5 separate regions of the Homo sapiens genome follow, and regions 1, 2, 4 and 5 are each linked to region 3. Evidence: promoter capture Hi-C in 16 types of primary human blood cells and fetal thymus (Javierre and others, 2016). All regions are on one chromosome and are shown on one strand. The core of a region is centred on a gene start or on the middle of the fragment in contact, and the rest is flanking DNA. Distances in the headings are between cores, read along the strand shown. Region 1 overlaps TMEM260 (transmembrane protein 260). Region 2 holds the start of CDKN3 (cyclin dependent kinase inhibitor 3). Region 3 holds the start of KTN1-AS1 (KTN1 antisense RNA 1). Region 4 overlaps EXOC5 (exocyst complex component 5). Region 5 holds the start of GMFB (glia maturation factor beta).

Region 1 (2,933 bases), core at 342-2,841, 1.0 Mb before region 3:
TTAACATTAAGAAAAATAGGCTGTTTTTCTCTAACTTCTTTTTACCATGGAAAAGTCAGTGTGCTGTTATTATTTGCCAGACTTCTGCTGCTATAAAGATAAATCTGGAATGTGACAAACTTTCATCAATTCTTATCAAATGTTAAACTAAAATCGAAATAGAAAAGATGTCCCCATTCAACGTCTCTAAATGTAACCTTGATAAAGATCTAAAGGGAAATACTACTCTTAAATTGATTGTGATAAAGAGGAAGGGAATAGTAAAAAAACCTCGAGCTTCCCGAGTCTTGGCTTTCTCCCAACCCTTTACATGAAAGGTTCCTCAGTTGTGTCTACCTGCATCAGAATTAACCTGCTTTTTAAAAATGAAGATTCCTTGCCCACACCTCCAAATTCCATAATCTACTAAGACCCACTTGCACTGGGGGCTCAAGTTTCCCAGGTAATTCTGAAGTACGTTCCTGTCTGAGAACCACGGCTTTGTTGTCTGCAATACAAACTAATGGCAAGCCCAGAGTTGTCAGCAGATGCTTAACCTTTACAAAAACCAGCTCCCTTTATATCATACTTCTCAATATTAATTAGACTAGACTGTCACACATCACATCTGTTAAAGACAGTATCTTTGAAATAAACTCACGTACAAACTAATTTAGTGAAGGCCAGATTCCTACCCCCTCCCCGAAAAGCACCACAAGCACCCTGCCCATAAATGAACTGTGTGTGTCAAGTGGTACAAAAAATAATTTTGGCAAGACGACACAATGTGATGAATCTATGGAGTAAAATGTAAGACTTATCAGGAAGAAGAATACATGCTTTATACTGGTTTTGAGATGTGTTCTGTTTATTGATGAAAATATAATTCATAAACATTCAAGAATAGTGCATTCAACATGTAAACACAATTATCAAATATACGATAAAGCAAATTTTCCATATTGGCATATACTTGGAAAACAGTTTATCATTCCCAAAAATGAACATAAAAATATTAGAAGCAACCACTATTTAACATCAAACCAAACAAAATTAAAGCACCTAAAGTTTGGTAACTCAAGGTGAATACACAACTTTATTCTTTTAGGAAAAAATAAAATACAGTATTAATAAAGGCAAGGCAATAATCATGATTTTAAATAAATTTTAAACATCACTACATATGTGATGGTGGATTTAGAAAAGAATTTCATGAAATGTTTTGACGAAAAGTAGAGGTTAAGGGGGCATATTCTGAAGTCAATATACTTTTCTTTTCCTGATTTCTCTACTTTGTGTGACTTTGGGCATAGCTTAGCCTTAGTTTTCCCATTTATAAAAGGAAAATAATAATTGCACCTACTTTTAAGGGTAGCTGGGAGGGTTAAAACAACAACCCATATAAAGCACTTGGAACAGTGCCTGGCACATAGTAAGTGCCCAACAAACGTCAGTTATTATAAATCTCACTCCCATCCTTCACACTCAACCAACCATAAGTAGCTGTCAATCTTTTTATTTTTTTACAAGTAACAGAACTACCTAACCTCTGAATAATGCTCTCCAGCACCAAAACTCACAACTATAAAGTTACTTCCATTATGAAATACCAATCTTGGTAACACTGTACAGAAACTCCCTACTACACGAATGAAACACTATCCCTACTTGTGCAACAGGACCTGAAAGAAGAAAGGTAACAATTTGAAGATGTAACATCAAAGATCTTCAACGTGGTAGGCAGCCCTAAATATGATCCCCACTAATCCCCAAGTCCTGATATTCTCACCTGTGTAATCCTTCCCCCTTGAATATGGGTTGGGTTTACTGACGAAGTTCCAGGAATAAAATGCAGAAGTGGTATATCACTTACAGTATTAGGTTACAAAATGACAGAGCTGTCAGACAGAGAGGTGTCCTTCATCTTTTTCTTGACAGAAGTCAGTTAACTTATGGAGACCCACATAGCAAAGAACTAGATTGCGTTTCTCCCCAAATTGAGCCTTGAGAAGACCGCAGCCCCATCGCACACCATGACAGCAACCTTTTTCTGAGTACGAGCATCTAGCTTAAACGGCACCCAGACTCCTGATTTACAAAAACGGGAGACGATAAACGTTTGCTGTTTAAGCTGCTCAATTTGGGGATCACTAGTCATGCAGCAAAAACTGCTTCTTCAGTCCATAGGTTCACCACCTGAAATTACAGCACTATTCTGACAAAATTACTGGCCATGATATGGCATTATTGAATCCAAAAACAAAACATGGATCTTGTTTCTTGCATCAAATACAAAACAATTAGTGTGATTTAAGGGCCAATGAGTCATGCTTTTCTTTTTCATAGAAACAGCCGCACCTGGCTTCCACCTTTTTAAGAGTTCTCCTGCAAATATTCTGCATGGCTAGTTCCTTCTCAATATTCAGGTTTCAACTAAAACACCACCTCTTCAGAGGTCTTTCCTGAATAGTCATTCGGAAGGACCCACTACTTACCCCCACTCTCAATCATATTTCCCTCCTACTGTCTCCATAACTTATCACCAGTGAATATGCTGTTTATTCATTAACTTGTGTATTGTCTAACCGCACTGGAACACTAGCAATTATCTGTTCGCCACTACTGTTCTTTTGTTTGAAACATAATAAGGACACCGTGAATAATATCTGTGGACTAAAAAAGACTGAAAGTAAATACTCAGGACCAGGATAAAAGATCTGGGGAAGTGGAGAGGTCGATAAGCCCCACCAGGCGAAACCAACAATACGCCCCATCTCGAAAACCTGAGAACTAAAGAAACCACAACGACAGGAATGGAAACAGAAGTGGGCTCTGGAACACACAATAGTGCGCTGTGCACAGGGGGGTGGATGGAGGCCCAGAGCTGACCAGACCGAATGCCAAGAGCAGGGGCCAGACGCAGACCCTGCCCGTTCTGGGACCAGGGGAGAGGG
Region 2 (2,700 bases), core at 73-2,572, 1.2 Mb after region 3:
ATGGGGACAGGTGGAGAAAGAGGCCAGGAGTGAAGGACAGCTGATGTCCCTCCACATGGCAACATAGGGATTAGCAATTGTAAGCACCTAATGCTCTTTCTAGCTCTGAAGCTATATTCTACAACGGTCTTGGTACTAGAAGATCACAGGACGGCTAATTTAGGCTACGGACTTTTTTTTCTTTCTTTCTTTTATCTTGAGATAGGGTTTTGCTCTGTCGCCCAGGCTGGAGGGCAGTGGCGTGATATCCGCTCACTGCAACCTCTGCCTCTTGGGTTCAAGCTATTTGCGTGGCTCAGCCTCCCGAGTAGCTGGGACTACAGGCGTGCACTACCACGCTCAGCTAATGTTTGTATTTTTAGTAGAGACGGGGTTTCACCGTGTTGGCTAGGCTTGTCTCCAACTCCTGGCCTCAAGTGATCCGCCCGCCTTGGCCTCCCAAAGTGTTGGGATTACAGGCGCGAGACACCACCCGGCCCTAGGCTATGGATTTCTGTTGCTTTGGCTCTATCTGAAGTATTATAATCAACTGCACCCAAAGGAAAGGCTTCCAGTAGGTTGTCAAGCCGGGCAGTAGGAAATATGGGTTAGGTGGGGGATCTTCAGCTCCTTGCCTGCATCTGTTTTTTCTTTAAAGCAACTTTGATGATTCATATTTCAAATTTGTGTGGCCCATTCACCAGGTTTATTAATCCTAACAGAGCTGGACGTTTCTGCTTCCCCAGGCCCTGTGATTCTGAACGTCACGGGAAAAGAGCAGCATTGCCAGGTGGCCCTGGGGCATGGTGACAGCGGTGGTGTCGCCCACAAGCCGCGGCGTGGCATTCGTACTCAAGGTTTCCCCAGGCCCTGTGGGCGCAGGTAGCGCCCGGCCACCCTTCGGGGCTGGGGTATCGCGCCCACTCATCGCTGACACTCAAGCTCTTCGGCTCGGTTTCCTCGGTACAACGAGGCTCGGCCCTCTTTGGCTGGGCGGCTGGGAGGCTTATGAGACCCCGCAGGGGACAGGTGACAGCCCACAGCAGGTGCACAGCGAATGTCCGTCTTTCCTTCGTCGGCCACCGACCCTGCTCCTTCGTCTCTCGTGCCCGTGCTGGGCCCGTGCGAGTCACCTCCCCGACCCGCAGAACGGTTACGGCGCCAGTCGCACTGCTACCAGGCTAGGGCTGCCCTCCGGCCCAGGATCGGGTCCCCGGGACCGCTTGCGTCCCTGCCGCCTCGCTCCTCCAAACCCCAGCACGTCCGACTCACCGGCTTCATCGCTGGCCGCCCCACGTCGAGACCAGTGCCGCCTCCCTCTGCAGCGCCGGCGACTCACCGGTGCCCCGGCCGAGCCCGCGCCCCGCAGCTTAGCTCACTGGTTCGTCCTTCTGTGAGGTGGGCGCGGCGTCTTCCAGCAACCAATCAGATCCGCTTCTGGTTTCTTACTCCGCCTTTGGGTGGCCGAAGACTCGGCCTCTAATCGCTGACTGGTTCCTAGAAGACCTTTGAAAGACGCGCGGGAGGCGGGCCCTGTGGGACGTTGATTGGCTGGGAGGGCGCCCTCCTCCCGCCAGTTGGGAGAGTGCAGGGGGCGGAGGCGGGGCGGAAGAGTCAGAAGGCGGCCCTAGCGCTTGGGGGACGCTGGAAAGCTTTGCTTCTTGATGGCAGGATGTCAGCGTGGTCCATACGGTTGGGAGGTGATTTTTTTTTTTTTCTTGAGACGGAGTTCGCTCTTGTTGCCCAGGCTGGAGTGCAATGGCGCGATCTCGGCTCACCGCCACCTCCGCCTCCCGGATTCAAGCGAGTCTCCGCCTCACCCTCCCGAGTAGCTGGGATTACAAGGATGTGCCACCAAGCCTGACTAATTTTTGTATTTTTTGTAGAGACGGGGTTTCTCCATGTTGGTCAGGCTGGTCTCGAACCCGGGTTGGGAGTTTTTGTGTTTGTGACGGAAGTCTTACTATGTTGCCCAGGCTGGCCTCGAACTCCTGTCCTCAAGCAATCCTCCCGCCTTAGCCTCCCTTGTAGCGGCTACGGTAGGGAGTTTTTGTTTCTTTAAGTTGTATTTTTATTTTTTATTTTTTAAGGGCTCAGGGAAGCACTGTATTGGATCGTCACATGAAAAACATCACATAGACTTTGTAATTATATCTAGACATACAAATACTAGGGAAAAAACTAAAAATTTAGAGTATAAACATATTTTATATGCTTGAAGTTTTAGTTTATCGTTCCAGAAACTAGACAAGTTACAGTGTAGATCAATATTCCTGTCCCCCAAATATGAATTAAATTATATTGTGTGAAAGGGAAATTATAAAATGCCAGGTAAGATAGGTCTAAGGGCCAGTGTGTCTACATAATTAGCTGTAATCTTTTAAAAATGTGAGTATTTCTCCGCCTTCTCCAGTCCCCATTTAACTAGCCATGGGAAAGGAAGTCGCCTGGAGCAGATCTGAGAAAAATATGCAGAAATTTCAACCCCTGATTCATGTTGTGAAAGCCAATGGGTATAGAGCTATTAGAAGGAATTCCTTAGTAAAGAAGGTACCACAGTTTGATTTAGAGACTGTATTAGCTAGTCATGGTTGCCCAGAGATAAAGAATGAATAGGATGTGTATATATGGATATAGAAACAGATTTATTTTAAGGAATTGGCTCCTGTGCTTGTGGAAGCTTGGAGAGTCCAAAATCTGATGGGGGGAGGCCAGTGCGCT
Region 3 (3,007 bases), core at 78-2,577:
CTCTTTAAGCACTACTAACTTAAATAGCGGCTAAGGAATCCGTTTGCCAACACAGTTCTGAATTTAGATTCCTCCTTCCTCCCACAGGAAAGAAGGGCCAACACTGAACAGCTTACTTTCAACCTAACCTAGTCAAGGTGCAACTGGGGCCGGCTGGGACGCCGCTGCCCGCGTCCGGGGCTGCCCACATCTAGTGCACCCAGCGCCTTCACCGCCAGCATGCGGGGCTGCACATCCCACACCAGACGTATGGCTGAGAGCCAGACGACTTCTCTAGACTTCCCGCGTAGTTTTCCGGCGAGGTCCCCAAGGCCAAAAATCTCACTTTTGGAAACTGAAGGGGTCAGGCCGAATCGCTAGGACACACCCCTCGGGGACAGGAAGGGATAACTTCGCCGGTGTCGAGAGTGGTCCATGGATTTTTCCAAAGTCCCCCCTCATGCTGCTTTCCGTGCCCAACCGCCTCCCGCCCTGACCTGGGGACTCGCAAAGGGCAGCGGGAGGGGCGCCGGGGAAGGGGGCGAGCGCCCAGACCGCCGGAGGCAGCGGCGAGGACTGGAACTCCAGCATGGCGTAAGTGTGGCCCAGCTCCGGCCCGGGGACGCCGCCGGAGACGCGCTGCCTCCGTCCACCGGCCGAGGAGGCGGTAATCCGCCTTCCCTCCCGGGGGCCCTCAGGCTTGGCTAAAAATAGGTGCCTCGGTCACCCCAGGGCCCGCTCGGGTCGACCTCGCCTTCGGGAGAGTCGTCCTTGGGGAGGGTGGGGGGTGTCCCTCGGCCGCGCCCCGGGTGCCGCGACAGAGCCGGGGTCGGGCCCAGAGCGGCCCCGCGAGGCCGAGGAGGTCCCTCCGAGCCCGCCCCCTGCGGCGTCCCGGCCCCAACAAGAGCCCCGCGGCGGCAACCGGATGCCCGAGGCCTACCCAGCGGGCGGCGTCCGGGCCCCGCGGCCGCGCCCCCCCGCCCGGCGCGGCCCTCCCGCCTGCCCCAGGACCCCGCGGCCGGCGCCGCCTCCCCCCGCGCTCCCCGCCGCCGGCGCCCGTCCCGGTGCGGCCTGCTCTCCCTCACCCTGTGCGGCCGGGAAAGGAGACCGGGAAGACGCGGCGGCGCCGGCACTACAGCCCGGGCCGCCCGCTCCGAGGCGCCGCCGCCGCCGCCGCCGCCGCCGCAGTCGCTCAGGTGCCGTCGCGCCGCTCGGCAGGAAACGGGCGGCTTCGGGGCGGGGCGGGGCGGACCCGGCACGTCCTGGCGTCTGGGCCGGCGGCGCCGGGAGACCGGCCCCTTAAAGGGACAGCCGCCGGCCCGCCTCTGCCTCCGCGCGCCTGCCCACGCGCTCCGGTACTCGCTGCTCGCGGCTGGCCGGCTCGGGATTCCGGGCTTTCTTCCCGAGACCGCGTCCCCCAGCTGGGCCGAAGGTGGACGCTCAGGGGCTGGAGGCTCAGCGGAATCCCCTGCGTTCAGTAGCCCCGCTCTCCCCTGTCCCGAAGGTTGGTCTCGTCTCGCGCGGCCCTCCCTCCAGGGCACCACCTGGCTCCCCACGCCTTTTAACTTCAGCAAACGGCACTAGATTTACCCCCTGACTATCCCAGATTTCCCCCAGAAATTACTGGAAAACGACATCCCCCGTCCCTTTCTCCAGGGGATCTCTCTGAAATCTCCTTCGGGCAACGCTAGCTACAAACGGAGAAAGAAATTAGAAAGCGACCCAAATAATGGTCGGGCGCGGTGGTTCACGCCTGTAACCCCAGTACTTTGGGAGGCCAAGGCAGGCGGATCACCTGAGGTCAGGAGTTCGAGACCAGCCTGGCCAACATATAGTAAAACCCGTCTCTGCCAAAAAAAGTACAAAAAATTAGCTGGGCATAGTGGCGCACGCCTGTAGCCCCAGCTACTTGGGAAGCTGAGACAGGAGAATCGCAGGAATCTAGGAGGCGGAGGTTGCAGTGAGCCGAGATCTCGCCACTGCACTCCAGCCTGGGCGAGAGAGTAAGACTCTCCGTTTCTCTCAAAAAAAAAAAAAAAAAAAGGAAAGAAAAGAAAGCGACCCAAATGAGTTGTGTGCAAACATTATGAAAGTGTTGTGACTGCCAGCTGGTAGCCATTTATGAAGCCGGGGTAAAAATCTAGAAACTGCTGCGCGAGGAGGGATGGGCCCGGATCTCTCCTTATTCGTTTGCTCTTTGCTGAAAGGATGGCAGCGATCCTCCCCGTCCACTGGCAAGTGAGTTTCGTGTGGATTGTTTACCGATGATCAATCTCTCACAGGAGGCCAGGCACTGCCCCACTACATGTACAAAACACTCCAAGCTGTCCGCAAATGTTATGAAGGCTTAAAATAATCCTAACGATTCCAGACTGTGGATAGAGATAGAAAAAATTAGGACTCACCACCACCACCTCGCCCTACATCTGACAAAGTGGGAACAGAAGCAGTTAAGGAATGAACAGCAGAACCGTTTCTACACCAACAGAATTTCCTGTACATGGGCTGGTTAAAAGTATCCATACTTTTTATTCTAATCATTTCTAAGTTTTCTAGAGCACCTCCAAAATACAAATGAAAACTGCGCAGTGTATAGTGGCCTGAGATATTGAGAATTCTGCCAGTCTTCAGTCACCGTGTTCTCCACAGATGCATTGTCTTATTTTAACTCCAGAGGCGTCCTCTTTTTTCTTTCTCATTAGGATTACTCTGCCCCTCAGCGGTTCCAGTGCCCTCAAAGCAATCTGTCTCTGAAGTACTGGCTATCTTCTGAGCGTGTGCCAGAAGATCCAGCTTTGTTGAAAAGCGAAGCCGTTAGTCCCTTAATACAAAGGGTAAGTGTATCATTTATGTAATGGAGTTTAAGGGCTCTTGATTAGCTTACAAACAACCATGTTATTTCCTCAGGTTAGTACTAACGCAGGTTTTAGGTTAGAATTAAAAATTTATATCATTCATTTTCCTGACCAGTAAAACCGCAATGTCATTTACAGGCAATAATATTTCGGTGCACTTGTAAGTAAGACAA
Region 4 (2,867 bases), core at 361-2,860, 1.7 Mb before region 3:
GTTTCCAGTTTCATCCATGTCCCTGCAGTGGATATGAACTCATCCTTTTTTATGGCTGCATAGTATTCCATGGTATATATGTGCCACATTTTCTTTATCCAGTCTATCATTGATGGGCATTTGGGTTGGTTCCAAATCTTTGCTATTATGAATAGTGCTGCAGTAAACGTACGTGTGCATGTGTCTTTATAGTAGAATGATTTGTAATCTTTTGGGTATATACCCAGTAATGGGATTGCTGGGTCAAATGGTATTTCTGATTCTAGATCCTTGAGGAATCGTCACACTGTCTCTCACAATGACAAACATCATATTTTAATGTTACAATTGGTAACATTTGTAAAGCATATAAAATCAGTTTAATGGAGCAATATAACAACCAATTATGTAAAGCTAAATTTCATATGGTAGTATCTTAGTGCATAGTTCTAGATTTTTGTTTTGGCTTGGTAATTTTTGCTTTTGATTACTATAGCAAAACAAAGTGAAGCTAAACCTTTGTCAGCCTTATAAAATTCTGAAGGATTTAAAAATTTTTTTACAGGTATTTGTATTACAGGGAATTGTTTGAGAAGTCTTTTGGGAGGACTTGGTCATTTGGAGGTCTTAGGATTTGTTAATTTGGCTTTTTGTCACTGTAAGCGCCTTTGCAGCAAGATAAAGTATTAGAAAGCAAGGCATTAGGATTTATTTGCTTATATAAGCAGAATTTTTAAATTTTTATTTATTTATTTATTTTTTATTTTTTGCTTTTTTGGAACTTCCATCCCTTGGGGATCAATTGCTGACTTCTCGTAAACCCTTGTGATAATTTGTCTCTGAGGATAAAATGTGTACTTTGCTTTCAGGACACTGACCTCTTATTTTCTTCCACCTACACTGGTGCCTCTTGCTTTCTTTTGTTGGATTGTTTTCCTGCTCTTATCTCCAAATCTTGGCATGCCTTTCTTCCTCGTAGATCTCAACCAGTCCTTAAGTAACCATCTATATGTTGATGATTCAAATTTTGTGAAGCTCCAGCTTCTTCCGTGTAGTAAAAATTTGTTTTTCCATCTATGTGCTCTATATTTCTCTTACATATCTAATAGGCATCTACACTTTAACATATGTGGAACAAAACTCTTGTTTCACTGCTCCCTCATCCATCTCCTTCCCTGATCTTCCCATCTCAGTAATTAGCACCACCATTCACAAAGTTGTCCTGGCTGCAAACCTCTACCTCAATGAGTAATCTTTTATTCCTTTTTTTTCTTTCTCCACATATCCAGTCTATCAGCAACTTATATGAATGCATGCCTTAAGACGTCATGAACCTATTTCTCAGCACCTCATCCACTGCCACTTTCATCTGAGTCACTGCCATCTCTTGACTGGACTACTAAGGTGTTGCAGGTTGGGTCTTTTGGGAAGCAGACTTTGAGACAGTTTAGTATGCAGAATATTTATTAGGAAGTAACCTTGGATGAACATTTATGAGGGGCAGAGCAAGGATACAAGATTGAGCATGTGGAGAAGTAGAGTTACAGTTTTCGTCCAGTGGCAGTGTTGATGGCTTCTGTGGGGAGGTCTGAAACTAAAATGACCTGTCAGAGTTGTCCTGCTTTGGACCAAAGTGGTCTGGCCCTTATACTCCCATCTTAATCAGTCATTGGGTATGGATCACATTGGGAAAGACATGACATTGGGTGAAGTGTCTCTTTGCATCTGATGAGGTCCCTGAAAATCTGCCCATGAAGGCTTTTTGTTGACAGCACTATTAGCAGTTAGAGCAAGTCCCTTCTTGAAGGGCAATCTGGATGGCACATTATTGTGTTCACCACAGACAACCCTTGTTCCACTATTAGACTTTACTTCTTCATATACATTTGGGGAGCAGCTCTTCTGACATTCTGGTTGGGTCTCATCCTGGAGGAAAATTAGAAGAAGAAGGCTAGTGAGATGAACTGTGGCCCCCACTGCTATAGCTGGTCTCGGAGTTGCAACTGATATTCACTGTCTCTCACCTCTACTATCGATTGTAACTCTGCCTTACCTTCAACTGGTACCTCTGATGTTCTTGGTATCTTAACTGGTTATAATACCCTTTTTAGGCCAGGGTTGTAACACTTGTCCATACATTTTCAGAATTGGTTGAGGGGGTGTTAAGAGATCCCTGAGAGGATCATCTGTGTGCCAAACATACTGCTCTCTGCCCCCATTGTGTATTAGCAGCCCTGCCTCATCCTGATCATTATGGTTGATTGCCCTAGCCAAAGATGATCACTCCTCTTCTTATTCCCTAGATATAAAGAGACAATATGACCAGGCAGTACTTGTAGTTATAGTTTAATGACACTCTTACTATGTTCGTAGGCAAAAGTGTTCCTTCTTTGGGCACCAAGACTATTCCGGAAGAACCTAGAGTTACAGGGATCCCAAGCACAAACTGGGAGTCATGATAAGTGAACCCACTTTCTGCTTTTACCTCTTGTTGCCAGACTCATGTGTTTTTCCTATGGGAGTCACAGCATCATATAAAGCCTTTTAATTCAGAATATATACTGCATCTTGGAGAATAGTGCTTCCTTTTTTTTTTTTTTTTGCTTTTGGAGACGGAGTCTTGCTCAGTCGCCCAGGCTGGAGTACAGTGGTGTGATCTTGGCTCACTGCAACTTCTCCCTCCTGGGTTGAAGCAATTCTCCTACCTCAGCTTCCCGAGTAGCTAGGACTACAGGTGCCCACCACCAACCCAGCTAATTTTTTGTATTTTAGTAGAGACAGGGTTTCACTGTATTGCCCAGGCTGGTCTCGAACTCCTGAGCTCCGGCCTGAGCCACCACACCCGATCAGTGCATCATTTTAATAGAGTATGCCCTCTGAACTGGTGC
Region 5 (2,856 bases), core at 222-2,721, 1.1 Mb after region 3:
TAATAGTCCTTTTATTTAAAGAATTCCAATGACTGGCCTTAGGAGATAACCAAGGTTGAGAGTGTCCCACCTTGGAGAGGAATGTTGAACAATTGATTCACAGCCTTGTTGCCGCAAACCAGACCATTGGGTGGCCCATTACTCAAGACAACCCTGGCAAACAGATAATGCTGACCTGCATAAACTACCCCTAATTTGTTGTGCTCTTTTAGGAGAGTCAGTCAGGGAATTCTCTCATTCTCTTATGCTGCCTCCCTTATGCTCCGGCATAAGCTCCAATGAAGCCTTGCCTGGAGAAACTCTTTTGGCCTCAGGTCAATTTGCATTGAGAGACCAAGAACCCATGGTCATAACAAAATGAGGTACTGCCCCAGGCAGTTTGTTTTATTGAAGGTACCTGTTGAATCCTAGAGCCTAAACTTTACTTCTCCCAAACCACTTTCTTCATGCATTCAAAACTGGACTTGTTCCACTAAGTCTGCATCTGGTACAGAGACTTCTTGATGTTTACTTAGGCAGTGGCCCATAAGAGTGCTCATTGAAACACCAATCATCATTCATTCATACTTCAATAAATAACTTGTATGGAGAAAAGAGGCTGGGCATGGTGGCTGACGCCTGTGATCCCAGCGCTTTGGGAGGCACACAGGAAGACTGTTTGTGGCCAGGAGTTCAAGACCAGCTTGGGCAATATAGGGAGACTCTATCTCTACAAAAAAATTTAAAAATTAGCCGGGTGTGTGGTGGCACACGGCTGTAGTCCCAGCTACTGGGGAGGCTGAGGTAGGAGGATTGCTTGAACCCAGGAGTTTGAGGCTGCTGTGAGCTATAATCGTGCTACTGCATTCCAGCCTGGGCAACAGAGCGAGACGAGAGAGAGAGAGAAGAAATGTGTGTGTGTGAGAGAAGAGAGAAGAAATGTGTGTGTGTGTGAGAGAGAAGAAATGTGTGTAAGAGAGAGAGGGAAAGGGGGAGGGAGAGAGAGAGAAAGAGAGAGAGAGAGAGAGAGAGATTGATTAACCAAGTCCTGGAAGGCAGCCGTGGTCAGAAGTGGGGTTCTGGAGAGGGTGGGAGGAAAGGAGGTGTGCCTAGATTTGAGGGAGATCAAATTTGGAAGGTAGGCTGCGGTCAGTACACACATTTACCATTGAAAACATTGATGTCACCATTAACATGCTCTCAGAGCTTGAAGACTGCGAAAAAGGTCCGGAGAACTGGCATGACTTTTAAGTATGCACCTTGGGTTTGTTTCTCACTTGCAGCCAGGCAGAGCGTCCTCCTCTAGAGGGAGCAGGGAAAAGAAAAAAAAAAAAAAAAAAAAAAAAAAAAAAATCAGGCGATCGCATTCTGTCTAATTTTGAGCCGCGCCTTTTGCCGTCCGCCATCACGTGCCGGCCCGCTGAGGCCGCGTTGATAGGTGGGGGCGACTGGGCCAGGCGCCGGGGCAGGAAGGGAGGCGGCCGCCGTGCCATTCTTAAAGGCGCCCGAGTGTAGGCGACAGGCCGCTGACGGCCGGAAGGAAAATGGTGAGTTGCCGCTGGGAGGGCGGGGGCCGGAGGGCTGGGCGAGCCGGCCAGCCGGGTTTTCCCGGTTTCCGGAGCCGGCGGCGGCGGGCAGCGCCCAGGAGGGCTCGGCGGCCGCTTCCGCTCCCAGCAGCTGGCCAGTGCCCATAGCTAGAGTACTTGGCCTCTGCCGCCGCCACCACGCCTCAGGGCAGCATCTTCCAGCTGGGCCCGGGGTGGACCCGCCCAGCGGGCCATGGGACTAGGGTGCGGCCACGAGCAGGGGGGTTGGGGAGGCCCCACGCCAGGTCCTTCTGGTTGGAGGGCTTCAGCTTCTGAGCTGTAGGTTGGAGGGAAAGGGGTCTGCCCCATCGGAGGGCTCCCTCAATTCCTGCTTTCCCTGCCAGGGCCGTGGCCAGGTTCCAGGGGTTGGTGGGCCCCGAGCATCTTCCACCTGGCGGCGTTTTGGGGGAGGACTCGAATTCCGATTGAATTCTCTCGGCCTCACCTTAGCTTCTTTCTCTCTGCTCCTTTCCCTAGCTTCCTACAGAGGATTTCTCCTTATCTTTGCTTTCCTATGGCAGTTGGAAACCTTTCGACCCAAAGCTTTGGCACTGGGCCTTAAAGTAATTGTCAATAACTTTAGTTTTGTTGGTTCTGGGGGCTGTGGCTTCTGTTCTTACATGGGATGGACCCCAAGCATAAAAATAAAGTGGAAAATTAAATAAATCGCCATCAAGGATCTTTTGGATCCATCCCATTAGGTTTTAAAATATGGGTAAATTTCATTAGAAACAACAAAACACTGCTCTCTGTGACCATCCACTCAATTCTCAGCCCACTTTCATCGAATAGATCTTGTCATGGTCACTGAATCGAATGGATTCTTTTCAGTTTTCGTCTTCTCTGACCTTTTAGCTGCATTCCAGAGTGTTATACTCTCTTGTTTTTGAAGCATTCTCTTCCTTCATTCTTCCCCTTTGGCTTCTGGGATACAGAGCTCCTCCTACTTCTCCTATTGGTCCATCTGTTTCCCTTTCAGACTATTCTCCTTTCCCTGGACAATGCTCGAAGGAGTCCCAGGTTTCATCCTAATCCTTCATTTTCCATTCTGTATTCTTCATCCTAAACTATGGCTTCAGTTACCATCTATATTCAGATGACTTGTGAATTTACAGCTCAGAAGACCTTGCTTCTGAGATCCAATCCAGATCTGTATGTACTTTTTTTTCTTTGAGTCGGAGTTTCACTCTTGTGGCCCAGGCTGGAGTGCAATGGCGGGATCTCGGCCCATTGCAACCTCCGCCTCCCAGGTTCAAGCAGTTCTCCTGCCTCAGCCTCCCAAGTAGCTGGG

What was found. Contacts are between HindIII fragments. The CHiCAGO score rates a contact against its expected background, and 5 or more counts as called.
Region 1: a fragment that was not itself captured here is called in contact with the fragment with the promoter of KTN1-AS1 in region 3 in 7 of 17 cell types (fetal thymus, total B cells, naive B cells and 4 more); the score reaches 9.3 in fetal thymus.
Region 2: the fragment with the promoter of CDKN3 here is called in contact with the fragment with the promoter of KTN1-AS1 in region 3 in 1 of 17 cell types (total CD8 T cells); the score reaches 6.0 in total CD8 T cells.
Region 4: a contact is called between a fragment that was not itself captured here and the fragment with the promoter of KTN1-AS1 in region 3, in 2 of 17 cell types (non-activated CD4 T cells and M1 macrophages). The highest score is 5.5, in non-activated CD4 T cells.
Region 5: a contact is called between the fragment with the promoter of GMFB here and the fragment with the promoter of KTN1-AS1 in region 3, in 4 of 17 cell types (activated CD4 T cells, total CD8 T cells, naive CD4 T cells and 1 more). The highest score is 7.3, in activated CD4 T cells.

What each region holds. Positions count from the first base shown.
Region 1 is chr14:56,580,105-56,583,037 of GRCh38, reverse strand. The region is part of intron 1 of TMEM260 (transmembrane protein 260); the gene reads right to left. Among named protein-coding and RNA genes, the nearest start is that of TMEM260, 1.8 kb to the right of the region's middle. The HindIII fragment of the contact is 4,901 bases long and covers 1-2,933 here.
Region 2 is chr14:54,395,629-54,398,328 of GRCh38, reverse strand. CDKN3 (cyclin dependent kinase inhibitor 3) reads right to left here and starts at 1,322. Exons shown (of 8, transcript NM_005192.4): 1 at 1,252-1,322. The coding sequence starts at 1,260. The HindIII fragment of the contact is 7,211 bases long and covers 1-1,633 here.
Region 3 is chr14:55,578,412-55,581,418 of GRCh38, reverse strand. KTN1-AS1 (KTN1 antisense RNA 1) reads left to right here and starts at 1,327. Exons shown (of 3, transcript NR_027123.1): 1 at 1,327-1,483; 2 at 2,682-2,813. KTN1 (kinectin 1) reads right to left here and starts at 1,212. Exons shown (of 44, transcript NM_001079521.2): 1 at 1,065-1,212. RefSeq lists silencers at 1-188, 368-1,007, 1,068-1,327 and enhancers at 1,768-1,857, 1,868-1,987. The HindIII fragment of the contact is 5,026 bases long and covers 1-3,007 here.
Region 4 is chr14:57,255,553-57,258,419 of GRCh38, reverse strand. The region is part of intron 1 of EXOC5 (exocyst complex component 5); the gene reads left to right. Among named protein-coding and RNA genes, the nearest start is that of EXOC5, 12 kb to the left of the region's middle. The HindIII fragment of the contact is 5,789 bases long and covers 1-2,867 here.
Region 5 is chr14:54,487,595-54,490,450 of GRCh38, reverse strand. It overlaps GMFB (glia maturation factor beta), which reads left to right and starts at 1,471. Exons shown (of 7, transcript NM_004124.3): 1 at 1,471-1,526. The coding sequence starts at 1,524. RefSeq lists a silencer at 1,389-1,788. The HindIII fragment of the contact is 2,730 bases long and covers 1-2,110 here.